Linked DNA regions of Homo sapiens: regions 1, 3 and 4 are each linked to region 2. Evidence: promoter capture Hi-C in human tissues and cell types (Jung and others, 2019). All regions are on one chromosome and are shown on one strand. Each heading gives the region's core, a stretch centred on a gene start or on the middle of the fragment in contact. The rest is flanking DNA. Distances are from core to core; before and after follow the strand shown.

Region 1 (2,886 bases), core at 292-2,791, 220 kb after region 2:
GCTTTTAAGAAAGAATTAACATGAGTTTTTCACAAACTCTTGTAAAAATTAGAATTGGTATATACTTCCCAACTTACTCTCTGAGACCAGAATTTCCCTGACACCGAAACTAGACAAAAACATCACAAGAAAGCTACAGACCAATTTTGAATACAGACTGAAATATCCCCATCAAAATACCAGCAAACTGATTTCAGCAGCATATAGAAAGGATTATACATCATGACCACGTGGGATTTATCACAGTATGTGAGCTTGGCTTACCATATGAAAATCAATCAATGTAACATGTCATATTAGTAGAGTAAGGGGGCAAAAACTACATGATCATCTCAATAGACATAGAAAAACATTCCACAAAACCCATCCTTTCATAAAAAAAAAAAAAAACTCTAGGGATAAAGGAGAAATTCCTCAATCTGATAAAGGCCATCCATGAAAAACACATAGCTAACAATGTATTTAAAGGTGAAAAACTGAGTATTTTCCCCCTAGGATCAGGAACAAGACAAGGATATCCGCTCTCACTGCTTCTATTCAACATGATATATTGGAAGTTCCAGCCACAGCAATTAAGCAAGAAAGAAACATAAAACATTCAGATTGGAAGGGAAGAAGTAAAATTATATAAAATCAACAAGATTGCAGGATACAGTATCAATATACAAAAAGCAATTATATTTCTATATGTAAGCAATGGGCAATCTGAACGTAAAATTTGGAAATATTATGTTTATAATAGCATCAAAAAGAATAAAATACTTAGAAATAAACTTAGGAGGAGTAAAACTTGTGCACTGAAAATTACAAAACATCATTGAAAGAAATTAAATTAGGGCCAAGTGTGGTGGCTCATGCTTGTAATCCCACCACTTTAGGAGGCTGAGGCAGGTGGATCACATGAGGCCAGGAGTTCAAGACCAGCCTGGCCAACAAAACGAAACCCCATCTCTATTAAAAACAGAAAAAATTAGCCAGTTCTGGTGGTGTGCACCTGTAACCCCAGCTACAACCTGGGAGGTTGAACCTGGGAGGTGGCAGTTGCAGTGAGCCAAGATCGTGCCACTGCACTCCAGACTAGGTGATAGAGCGAGACTCTGTCTCAAAAAAATAATAAATAAATAAATAAATAAATAAATAAATAAATAAATAAAATTAGACCCAAATCACTATAAAGACATCACATGCTCATGGATTGGAAGACTCAGTATTGGTAAAGTGGCAATAATCTTCAAACTGATATTCAAACTAAATACATCCCCTATCAAAATCTTAGGAATTTCGAAAGATTAATCCAAAAACTCGTATAGAAATGGAAGGGATCCAGAATAGCCAAATTATCTTGAAAAATAAGGATAAAATTGGAGCATTCACACTTCCTGATTTCAAAGCTTACTATACAGCTATAGTAATCAGTGCAGTGTGGTATAAGAATAGACATACAAATCAATGGAATAGAACTGAGACTCCAGAAATTACCCCTTACATTTACTGATTTTTGAAAAAGATGCCAAGACAATTCAAAAGGAATTTGTGTGTATCTGCACACGCAAAAATATTCGTTAGCAAATTATTAATCAGAGACACAATGAGATACTACCACCTCACACCAACTATGGTGGCTCTAATATAAAAAATGGAAGTAATATGTGTTGGCAAGGATGTAGGAAAACTTAAATTCTCACACATTGCTGGTGGGAATGTTGAATCCTGCAGCCACTTTAGGAAACAGTTTGGCAGTTCCTCAACTGATTAAACATAGAGTTACCTACTGCATGTCCCAGCAATTCTACTCTCATGCATACAAACAAGATAATTCAAAACTACACACAAACTTGTACATCTAAATGTTCATAGCAGTGCCAAAGTAGAAACAACCCAAATGTCCATCAACTGAAGCATGGTTAACAAACAGTGGTGTGGAATGTGGCATATACAATAGAATATTACCTTGCAATAAAATGAAATAAAGTACCCATGCAAAATGGATCTTGCAAACCTCATGCTGAATGAAAAAAAGCCAGACACAAAAGGCTACATATATTATAGTACTCCTTTTATATGAAATTTCCAGAATAGGCAAAGCTATAAAAATAGACAGTAGATTAGTAATTTCTAGGGGTTGGGAGACGAGGAGAATGGGGAATGACTGCCAATAAATATGGAGTTTCTTTTGCGGTTGATGATAATGTTCTGCATGTTAATGGTGGTGGTAGATGCGCAAATCTGTGAATACACTGAAAAACACTAAAATTCTATACTTTAAAAATTATTTTTGGTATAAGAATTATATCATCATAAAGTTTTATAAAATAATAATTGATATTAAAAACTCAAAGGATGAATTAGACTACAGGAAAGAATAAGTGAACTGGGATATAAATCTGAAGATATGACCCAGAATACAACAAAAAGATGCAGAGATGGAAAATATACAAGAAAAGTTAAGAGATATCAAGGATAGAGTGAGAACATTTAATAAGTCTAATCAGAGTTCCAAAAGGAAAGGAAAGAGAATAGGAGAGAGGCCATATCAGAAGAGATAATGGCTGAGTATTTTTCAGAATTGATTAATGATACCAATTCTCAAATTCAGGAAGTGCAACAAGTTCCAAGAATAACTTAAAAAGAAGAAAAGAAAAGAAATTAACACCTGGACATATCATACTAGTCTGCAGAACACCAAAGACAAATTGAAGCTCTTAAAAACGGTCAGGTGAAATATAAGTCAGCAATAAAAAGGAACAAATTATTGAAACACCCAGAAACTTGATTAGATTTCAAGAATATTAGGCTGAGTGAAAAGCCAAGGTACAAAATGAGGCATGAGTCTGTGCTAGTTGCCATAACAAAATACCATAGACTGAGGGGTGTAAACAATAAAAA
Region 2 (2,999 bases), core at 491-2,990:
GCAATAGGCTATACCAGATAGCCTAAGTGTGTAGTAGGCTACGCCATTTAGGTTTGTGCAAGTACATTCTATGACGTTCACACAAGGATGAAATAGCCTAACATATTTCTCAGACCATAGCACTATCGTTGAGTTATGCATGACCTTATTTACTATATGGCCGCTTACAGAAAAAGTTTGCCAATCATGACCTACTAAGACGACAAACCCTATGTCAATAATCAAAAGAATCCAAGTAAGAACCAGACTACTTCAGTGCTTTCTAAATGTGCCTGACCCTGGAACGCATTATTTCCAATTCAGGATTGGTGTTTCCTGACACACACAAGTCAACTCAAAAGGAAGGTTCGCTTTATTATTATGTGCTTAAAAAAATTTTCTTTACCATTTAAAAAATATTTTTAAGGTGTTTAAGAACTCCTTGGACTTATATGTGAAAAAATGTTCACTTGCTGAGTAGCAGATCACATAATATTGAAAAGATCATATGTGAAAAACATCACATAATTTTGAAAAATTATCTTGCACATAATACGTAAATATTCAGTCTTCCACCACACCATACGTACATTTATATTTATAATGATAGGCATTAATCACAGAAACTTCTATTAAGAAAAGGCACTCGCATAAGCACCTTGACTTCCTGCAGTGGTCCAGTGTCTTGTCCTTACACTGGAGGACTCACAGTTTCCCCAGCTTCTACCTTCAGTGAAACTGTATACTGCTTCTGGACCTTTATTATTTGCACGATCATGCCCGTGCTGTTGTTTACGACACATACTAGCAATGAGCCATTCAGCCTATTTATTTATTCAGGGCCCAAAATCTGAACAATAACAACTTAAAAAAACTTATTGTAACCCAAGCAAGATGAAGACTAGAATCAGAAAAGGCCTTATCAGACAAGTAATACATACTGGTTTAATTAAATACCCTGGAGTGTGGTGGCCTTATACATAAGGTCTAGCCAACATTCATTCGTTCCTATTCCAAGACCCTGCTTATCAACGGTGCAAGTATTTCTACATAATTTTCTCTTCCTTTTATGCTGTAGAGCATACCGCTTGTGGGAAATGGAGGGAAGGCCCACGGTCCCGACAATGTTTGGGCAGGGTACCTCGTCCCAGGTGGATCGCCCACCTTACTGCTGCATAGACCTGCTGTGTATCCCGGCCCCGGCCCCGGCCCCGGCCCGACGTCCTCTAGCCCCTCTTCCCAGCACTCAGGACCGCGGATTTCAGATGACCAAAGGCCACCCTGTGACAACAGCGTCGGAACCACGGCACTTCCGCCTGCGGCCGGTGAGACTACAAATCCCAGAAGCCCCGCGCAAGTCTCGTCCCACTACCACCCCCTCCCATCACGACTCCCAGAACCCTCCGCGAGACGCCAGGGCCTCGAAATAGAACAAAACCGGCCGGTGGGGGAGGGGGAAGGTGAGGGTCTCGGAGGACACAGGGGGTTAGAGAGCTCTCTGCAAATGCCGAAGACCCAAGCAGGCCTGCCGCCTACCCCTCCCCGCCCCACAACTGCTAGGCGCGGAGACCGCGGCCTGTTCCCCGCGCCTCCCGGGAAGCTGAGGAAGGTCCCGGACAGGCTTCCCCGCCGGCTCCTGCTAAGAGGTCCGCAGACCCTAGCCCGGTGTCCCCCCTCCCTCTCATAACGTTCCCCGCACACCGGCGCAAACCTCCGGCTCAGGAACCGCAGCAGCTTCGCTGTCCACGGCAGACGCAGAAACGCCGTTCACAAGCCTTTTCCCAGAAGCCCCCGGCGCGGGCTGCTTCCGGTCTGCGGGCCTGAGGAGGCGGGGAGAGGTAAAGCCCACGTTGCCATGGAGAAGCGCCCCGGGCGGGGGAGGGGCGGCCCCACGACAATGACCGCATTGAGGCTGCGCTTGGCCTCGCGCCTCTCCTCGAACAGCCCAGCGTCCTCTGGACCGTTTAAAAGAAAACATAAAGAGGACTCTACCATTAAGATAGTCCTTACAATTTCGCAAGCCCTTTCACGTGCATTATCTTGTGGATCCTCTCAGTAATCCCCTGCAAGAAGGAATGAAAGTGAGTGTTTGTGAAAGCTTACTACATTGTGCCAGGCGCTCTCGTCGTGCTTTACATGTCATTTTTTTTTCCACAAATAAATGATGTAGGAACTTTCATTATCCCCATTTCACAGCTGAGATAGTTGAGGCACAAATACAGTAAATAACCTGACAAGAGCTCACAACTCATTTGTGGGTAGCAAGATTTGAAACCAAGACGTGATTCAAATCTTTGGCTCCCACTAGTTATGTCATGGAGCTTTATTCCGACCTATTTATCTGTCAGGAAAACTAGATAAGACAGGTTAAGAGTTTTGGCAGTGATGTCACGGTGAATTTGTAGAATGCATGGTCATCTTAAAGCTGGGCATTTTATACCATAAAACAACTGCTGACGCGATCATTTAAAATTACAAATCAGACCACTTCACTCCCCTATTTAAAGCCCTCCAATTTATGTCATAATAATTTATGACATAAAAACTCCTTATAATGGCCTGTAAGTCCCCTGTGGTCTGTTGCCTGCCCGCACCCCCAGACCCTGGCGCCCCCAGTCACCTCAGCTCCTCGGCTCATTGTGGCCCAAGATCCTCAGCCTCACCACCTGCCTTTCATGGCGCATGACCCTTCATGGCACTGTTATTAATGGAAGTGATCTCATTTATTTACTTGTTTTATTTTTTGTTTTGTTTTGTCTTTAAGTCCCTTAAGGGCAGGGACCTTGTCTGTCTTGCTCACCACAGTATCCCATCCTAGATCCTGGAAGCTGACTGCCTGGTAAATAGAGAACTCAATAAATATTTGTTGAATAAATAAATGAATTGTGGGATGGTTACATTGCTGCCTTTAGCTAGGTCACATGATTGGCATCAGACACCACACAAAGGAGCCCTGTTGTTTAAGGACTGGTCAAAAGTGTAGATCCAGCCTAACATAAGCATTTCAAGATCCTCAGGCT
Region 3 (3,129 bases), core at 419-2,918, 130 kb before region 2:
GCCTCAGCCTCCTGAGCAGTTGGGACTACAGGTGTACACTACTGTGCTCAGCTATAGGTTGCTTTTTCACTCTTTTGACATTATCTTTTGATGCACAAAAATCTTTAATTTTTAAAATTTTTTTTATTTTTTGAGATGGGGTCCTGCTCTGTCACCCAGGCTGGAGTGCAGTGGCATGATCAAGTTCACTGCAGCCTTGATCTCCCAGGCCCAAGCAATCCTCCCATCTTAGCCTCCTAAGTAGCTGAGACTATAGTCCCATGCCCCCACACCCAGCTAATTTTATTTTTTAAGTAGAGATGAGGCCTCACTATGTTGCCCAAGCTGGTCTGAACTCCTGAGCTCAAGCAGTTCTCCTGCCTTGGCCTCTCAAAGTGCTGGGGTTATAGGCATGAGCCATCATGCCTGGCCAATTTTTAAATTTTCATGTAGTCTAATTTGTCTATTTTTTCTTTTGTTACCTGTGTTTTACATATCAGCCTACAGAGTTTCTAGCCCTTCTGCTAACCCCCAAAGTTTCTAATGAGAAATCAGCTGATAATCTTATTGAGGATCCCTTGAAAGTGATGAATCACTTCTTTCTTACTGCTTTCAAGGTTCTCTCTTTATCTTTGTATTTTCATGGTTTGATTAAAATGTATTTCAGTGTAAGTCTCTTTGAGTTCATCTTACTTGGAGTTTTCTAAGCTTCTTGGATGTTTATATTGATGCCTTTCATCAAATTTGGGGGACTTTCAGCCATTCTTTTTTTCTTTCTTTCTTTCTTTTTTTTTTTTTTTTTTTTGAGATGGAGTCTCACTCTGTCACCTAGGCTGGAGTGAAATGGCACGATCTGGGCTTGCTGCAGCCTCCACCTCCTGGGTTCAAGCAATTCTCCTGCCTCAGCCTCTCTAGTAGCTGGGATTACAGGTGCCCACCACCACGATCAGCTAATTTTTGTATTTTAGTAGGGACAGGGTTTCACCATGTTGTCCAGGCTGGTCTTGAATTCCTGACCTCAAGCAATCCACCTGCCTCAGCCTCCCAAAGTGCTGGGATTACAGGCGTGAGCCACTGCACCCGGCCAAGCCATTTTTTTTTCAAATACTCTCTCTGTCCCTTTCTCTCTTCTTCTTCTAAAACTCCTGATATGTGTATAGTCATCCATCTGCTTGATGGTGCCCTACAGGTCCCTTAGGCTCTATTCACTTTTCTTCAATCCTTTTTCTTTCTGTTTCTCAAACTCAATAATTTCCATGCCCTACCTTCAAGTTTGCTCATTCTTTCTTCTGCCTGCTCAAACCTGCCTGCGAATCCCTTCAGTGAACATTTAATTTGTTATTGTATTTTTCAGCTCTAGAATTTATTTATTTATTTTAGCCTATTTCCTTACTGATACTCCCATTTTGCTCATGCATCATTTTCTTGACTTTCTCCACGTTTCTTTTGTTGTTTGAGAATCTTTAAGACAATGGTTTTTAAATCTTTGTCTAATAGATCTGCCATCAGGTCTTTTTCAGGGACAGTTTCTGCTTATTTTTTAAATGAGCCAAACTTTCCTGCTTCTTTGTTTTCCTTGTGATTTTGTTGTTGTCGAAAACTGGACATTCAAATCAAATAATGTGGTAACTCTGAAAATCATATTCTCCCTTTTGCTGTTTGTCTGCCATTGCTTCTGTTATTCTTTTTGTTTTTCTGATTGTTGTAGGCTGTTCCAGTGCCTTTTTCTAAGCAACTATGGTCACTTTCCAATTGTGCTCATATATCCAGTTCCTTTTGAATGTTCCAGTCTTTAATGTCTGGCTCCCAAAAGGGAGAAAAAAAAAAAAAACTCAAGAGTAGGGGAAATATAGAACTGGCCCTTTAAATCCCCTGGATGTCACTTCAGCCAGAAGGAGAAAGGTTTGCAACAATGGGGGAGGTGTAGCAGAAGCAGCAACAATGGAGCCAGGTGATCAGAAGCAGCACTCAGCAATCAGAGTACAGATCCCCCATATTTGTAGAACAGGGTCCTTTTTGCCCTCCTTGGCTTCCACAAGCTATGTGCAAGCTGCTCCAGGAATACATAACTAACTATCCCAGGACTGGAGGTGGGGGATATGAACTGTTACTGTCCTAAGGGCTGAAATTGATTTAACTTAACCGCAATTTACTTGTGCAAGCCACTCTATAGAAATTGTAAGCCTTCAATTCAATAGATGCCAGAGTTCCAAAAGTATTTACATCAGACAGATTCTGCTGGTGCAGTTGCTGTCTAGGTGAGGAGACAGATTCCTGAGACTTTTTACTCTGCCATCTTCCCAGAATCCTTCTAGTTTTAATGTTGTACTCTCTAATGAGATGTAACTGTTTACCCAATTTCCCCAATTGCTGCAACTTATGGTTAAATAAGATGGCTATATAAGTTATATAAATGTTTACATCTTATGTGCATCTTCTCCAATGACAAAACCACTGGGGAAAACTTGGTAAAGTGTACATAGGACCTCTCTACCATTTTTGCAGCTAACTGTGAATATTTAGTTATCTCAAAAACAAAACAAAAAACAAGAAAAAAAACAAAAAATTGCCAAACTTGAAATTCAGGCTCTATTACTGTCTGTGTGAACTTGGGCTCATTTAACCAATCTGTGACTTGGTTTTGTCATCCATAAAATAACAGTATCTACCAAGTTATGGTAAAAAATAACTGAAATAACATATCAAAAGAAAAACTGTTTACTTATATCCCAGTTGTCACTTTTCACTTTCACTAAGCCATCATATCCCCTGTGACCTGCATGGACACATCCAGATGGCCGGTTCCTGCCTTAACTGATGACATTCCACCACAAAAGAAGTGAAAATGGCCTGTTCCTGCCTTAACTGATGACATTACCTTGTGAAATTCCTTCTCCTGGCTCATCCTGGCTCAAAATCTCCCCCCAGTGAGCACCTTGTGACCCCCACCCCTGCCCGCCAGAGAACAACCCCCCTTTTTTCCTTTACCTACCCGAATGTTATAAAACAGCTCCACCCCTATCTTCCTTCGCTGACTCTCTTTTCGGATTCAGCCTGCCTGCACCCAGGTGATTAAAAAGCTCTATTTCTCACACAAAGACTGTTTGGTGGTCTCTTCACATGGACGCGAATGAAATTTTGGTGCCGTGA
Region 4 (3,026 bases), core at 37-2,536, 150 kb before region 2:
CCAAATCTGCGGGCATCTTGATCTCAGACTTCCCAGCATCCAGAACAATGAGAAAAAAATATCTGTTGTTTATAAACTAGGAGAGAGAAAGAGATTTACCCAAAGTTCTCTTATAACCCAAAAGTATGGTTCATCTGAATGAAAACAGATGAACTTTGTCATCTTAAGTAAGGGGATACCATCGTGAGGTTTGGAATTTATCTCTTGTAAATCTGAAAAAAGTAAACAAATCCTAACTATTGATATTCTGATAGCACTGAGGACAGGAGTTGAATTGTAAATTGCTGCTTACCTAGCATTCTGCATGACTTGGTCTTCCCTCACCACCCTATCTTACCATATGGATTTTTCTTTTGATCGACACTTAACTCTTTCAGTAGGATTAAAACCACCATCCCAGATAATTAAAGATGAAAGTAAACTGAACATTCCCTTTTGGAACTTGGAAACTCCCTGCGGTTGCCAAAAAGAACTTGAAATGCTTTAAGATAGAGATTATACATTCAGTCAAATCAGCAATTATAAATTACTAGCTTTGTGCAAGGCTTTAGAACATAAGTAGAATGAGAAAAGAGGTTATTCTCTGAAACAGCCTCTGGGAAGGGGAAGTGGGTGTTTTCACGTCCCATTCATAAAACCTAAGGACAAGTCCATAAACTTTTCTCTGGTCTTTACTGCAGAGCAAAGAAAATCCACTGTTTCTATTTGTTAAAAAGCTTCAGCTTTTATGTCTTGTGAGAACAGAGAATGCTTGACCCTAAGGGGCCCACAAATCTTATGCAGGACCTTTTTTGTAAGTTAAAAAACAAAACAAGAATATTTTATCATGCAAATGTGTCTTGTCATTCATTAGAAAACACCACTGTGGTATTGTGACCTGGGTTCGTAATAAGCTCTGAAGTGTTCATCGAATAGGAAAGATATGAAAGAGTGGAGGAGGAGGAAACATGTGAGGCCTACTATGTGCCAGACGCTGTGCTAGGGAATGTAATATGCATTGTTACACTAAGAAAATAGCTAGCTGTGGCCCGGCTCAGTGGCTCATGCTTGTAATCCCAACACTTTGGGAGGCAGAGATAGGCAGATCGCTTGAGGCCAGGAGTTGGAAACCAGCCTGGGAAACAGTGAAATTAAATTAAATTTATTTAAAAAAAGAAAAAAAAAAAGATAGTTGAAAATATCTTCTGTCTTCACTTTTTGTTTCGTTTTCATTTTGACATGGGGTCTCTTTATGGTGCCCAGGCAACATAAAGAGAACTCCTGGTCTCGAACTCCTGCTTCAAGGGTTCCTCTAGCTTTAGCCTCCAGAGTAGCTGGGACTACAGGCACACACCACCACGCCCGGCTGTGTCTTCAATTGATGAAGATTGCCGATGATCATTTAAAATACTTTGTCATCTCAACTGCTCTCTGGAAAATTTTAATTTTATTGGGAAAGCATTTCTTTCTTTTACACTAACACCCTCATTTAAAGCAGGCCGAGGAAGACTTCACTTTGAAGCCTTTATCCTGCTCGAGGTCAAGGATTGTACCTGCCCATTTTGTAACTGCTGTGAGAGCAATGGAAGCTCCGCAGCACTTTTAGTTATCAAGCCCTTCCTTTCCATCTCCCAATCCCCATTGTAGACTAATAAATTTTTCAATATGAAGGCTCTTGTGTGTTCATGACTGTGATAAATGAAGCATGGCTGAAGTGGCTTTGCAAGCAGCTGGAATATCCCCTGGAGAAGTCATTTACATAATTAAACCTTGGAGTATCTGAACATGGTTCAGACTGTGACCTACTCTTGCATCTGAGGTGCCTCAGAAGCAGTGTCATATCATACACGTCCTGCTGCTGCTTGATCAGCTTCGCTTCTCTATCAAGCCTTCTCATTGTGACCTGGAGAGCTTCTTCAAATACCACCTACGAGCTGCCTTTCCTCCCCATTTCCCACTTTGATTTTGCTGAAAACTCACTTTCCTTAACTTAAACTAATTTAATCTTTTTGCTGTTTTCTATGTGCCCTGGATATCGGAGGGATTATTTAAGCTGTTTTAATTTTTAATATAAAGAATATAGGGCTCTGATTATAATCATCTACTGAGTACCTAGGAATGAATGTCATACTCTGCTCTGTTTGGACAATTTGTGTTTTCTTTGTACAGATAATTCAGCTCCCTCATGTAATACCCATGTTAACCCAGAGAGGTACATATTATAATCCCTATTGTACAGAAGAGGAATCTGACCCTTCCAAGTTAAGTTAGAAATGGGAGGGACAGTGATAATGATTGAAACCTAAGATTTGACTCCTGAATCCCACTGCTCTTAACCTTTGGAAAATATTGCCCATCAACTTCTCTTTATTCAAAGTGCCTAATACAAAACCACACATAAATGCATCCTCATAAATTATCTTCAGCTATATATTTAAACTACATCTTTTTTTAATTACTGTTGTAAGGCTACATGTAGATAAGCTAGTTCTCAACATTATTTTGTTTGTGGATGCCATAATTTGACAAACACTGAGGACCCTCCATCCAGACAAAAGCACACATGCCACATATACAACAGGTCTAGATGGCTGCCAACTTTAAGGGTCTCTTTCTGACAGATTAGACTCCTTCTCAGTCACAGGCTAATGTTGCCAAGTCATCTCTCTGCAGAGGTGAACGGCAGGCACTCTCATTGTTTGCTCTTCTTTCTACTGAAGTGAAATATACCCTTTCCATTACTACACCCTGGCCATGACACAGGGAGATGGCTTACAATAGACTTTCACACTGCTGAGTCCCCATGTCTCTAACAATGATATTAAAAACAGTGTGACCTTCTGCTCCATCAACCTCAGGGATGTGGTGTTGTTTTGCTATGCCAGTACATTTTTCCCTCCTGTTCAAATAGTCTTGACTTGTATATTACAACACATATAATAATAAGGCACAATTCGTTTTCCTAACATAGAAACTTTCAGAGAGAAAGGGTTTGACCACAAGGCATAATAAAAAAAAATACCTAGATATGAAAGGCCGTCTAGAAT

What was found. Contacts are between HindIII fragments. The study calls those that stand out against the background at their distance.
Region 1: a contact is called between a fragment that was not itself captured here and the fragment with the promoter of ZNF24 in region 2, in 1 of the 25 tissues and cell types used here (thymus).
Region 3: a contact is called between a fragment that was not itself captured here and the fragment with the promoter of ZNF24 in region 2, in 2 of the 25 tissues and cell types used here (dorsolateral prefrontal cortex and spleen).
Region 4: a fragment that was not itself captured here is called in contact with the fragment with the promoter of ZNF24 in region 2 in 3 of the 25 tissues and cell types used here (dorsolateral prefrontal cortex, hippocampus and lymphoblastoid cells).

Annotation. Positions count from the first base shown.
Region 1 is chr18:35,565,072-35,567,957 of GRCh38, forward strand. No RefSeq gene overlaps it. Among named protein-coding and RNA genes, the nearest start is that of GALNT1, 15 kb to the right of the region's middle. The HindIII fragment of the contact is 9,152 bases long and covers 1-2,886 here.
Region 2 is chr18:35,342,680-35,345,678 of GRCh38, forward strand. It overlaps ZNF24 (zinc finger protein 24), which reads right to left and starts at 1,741. Exons shown (of 4, transcript NM_006965.4): 1 at 1,681-1,741. LOC124904283 (a long non-coding RNA gene) reads left to right here and starts at 1,375. Exons shown (of 2, transcript XR_007066337.1): 1 at 1,375-2,060. RefSeq lists an enhancer at 1,059-1,118 and a silencer at 1,799-1,968. The HindIII fragment of the contact is 10,533 bases long and covers 807-2,999 here.
Region 3 is chr18:35,213,297-35,216,425 of GRCh38, forward strand. No RefSeq gene overlaps it. Among named protein-coding and RNA genes, the nearest start is that of ZNF397, 26 kb to the right of the region's middle. The HindIII fragment of the contact is 6,511 bases long and covers 1-3,129 here.
Region 4 is chr18:35,190,849-35,193,874 of GRCh38, forward strand. No RefSeq gene overlaps it. Among named protein-coding and RNA genes, the nearest start is that of ZNF397, 49 kb to the right of the region's middle. The HindIII fragment of the contact is 5,575 bases long and covers 1-3,026 here.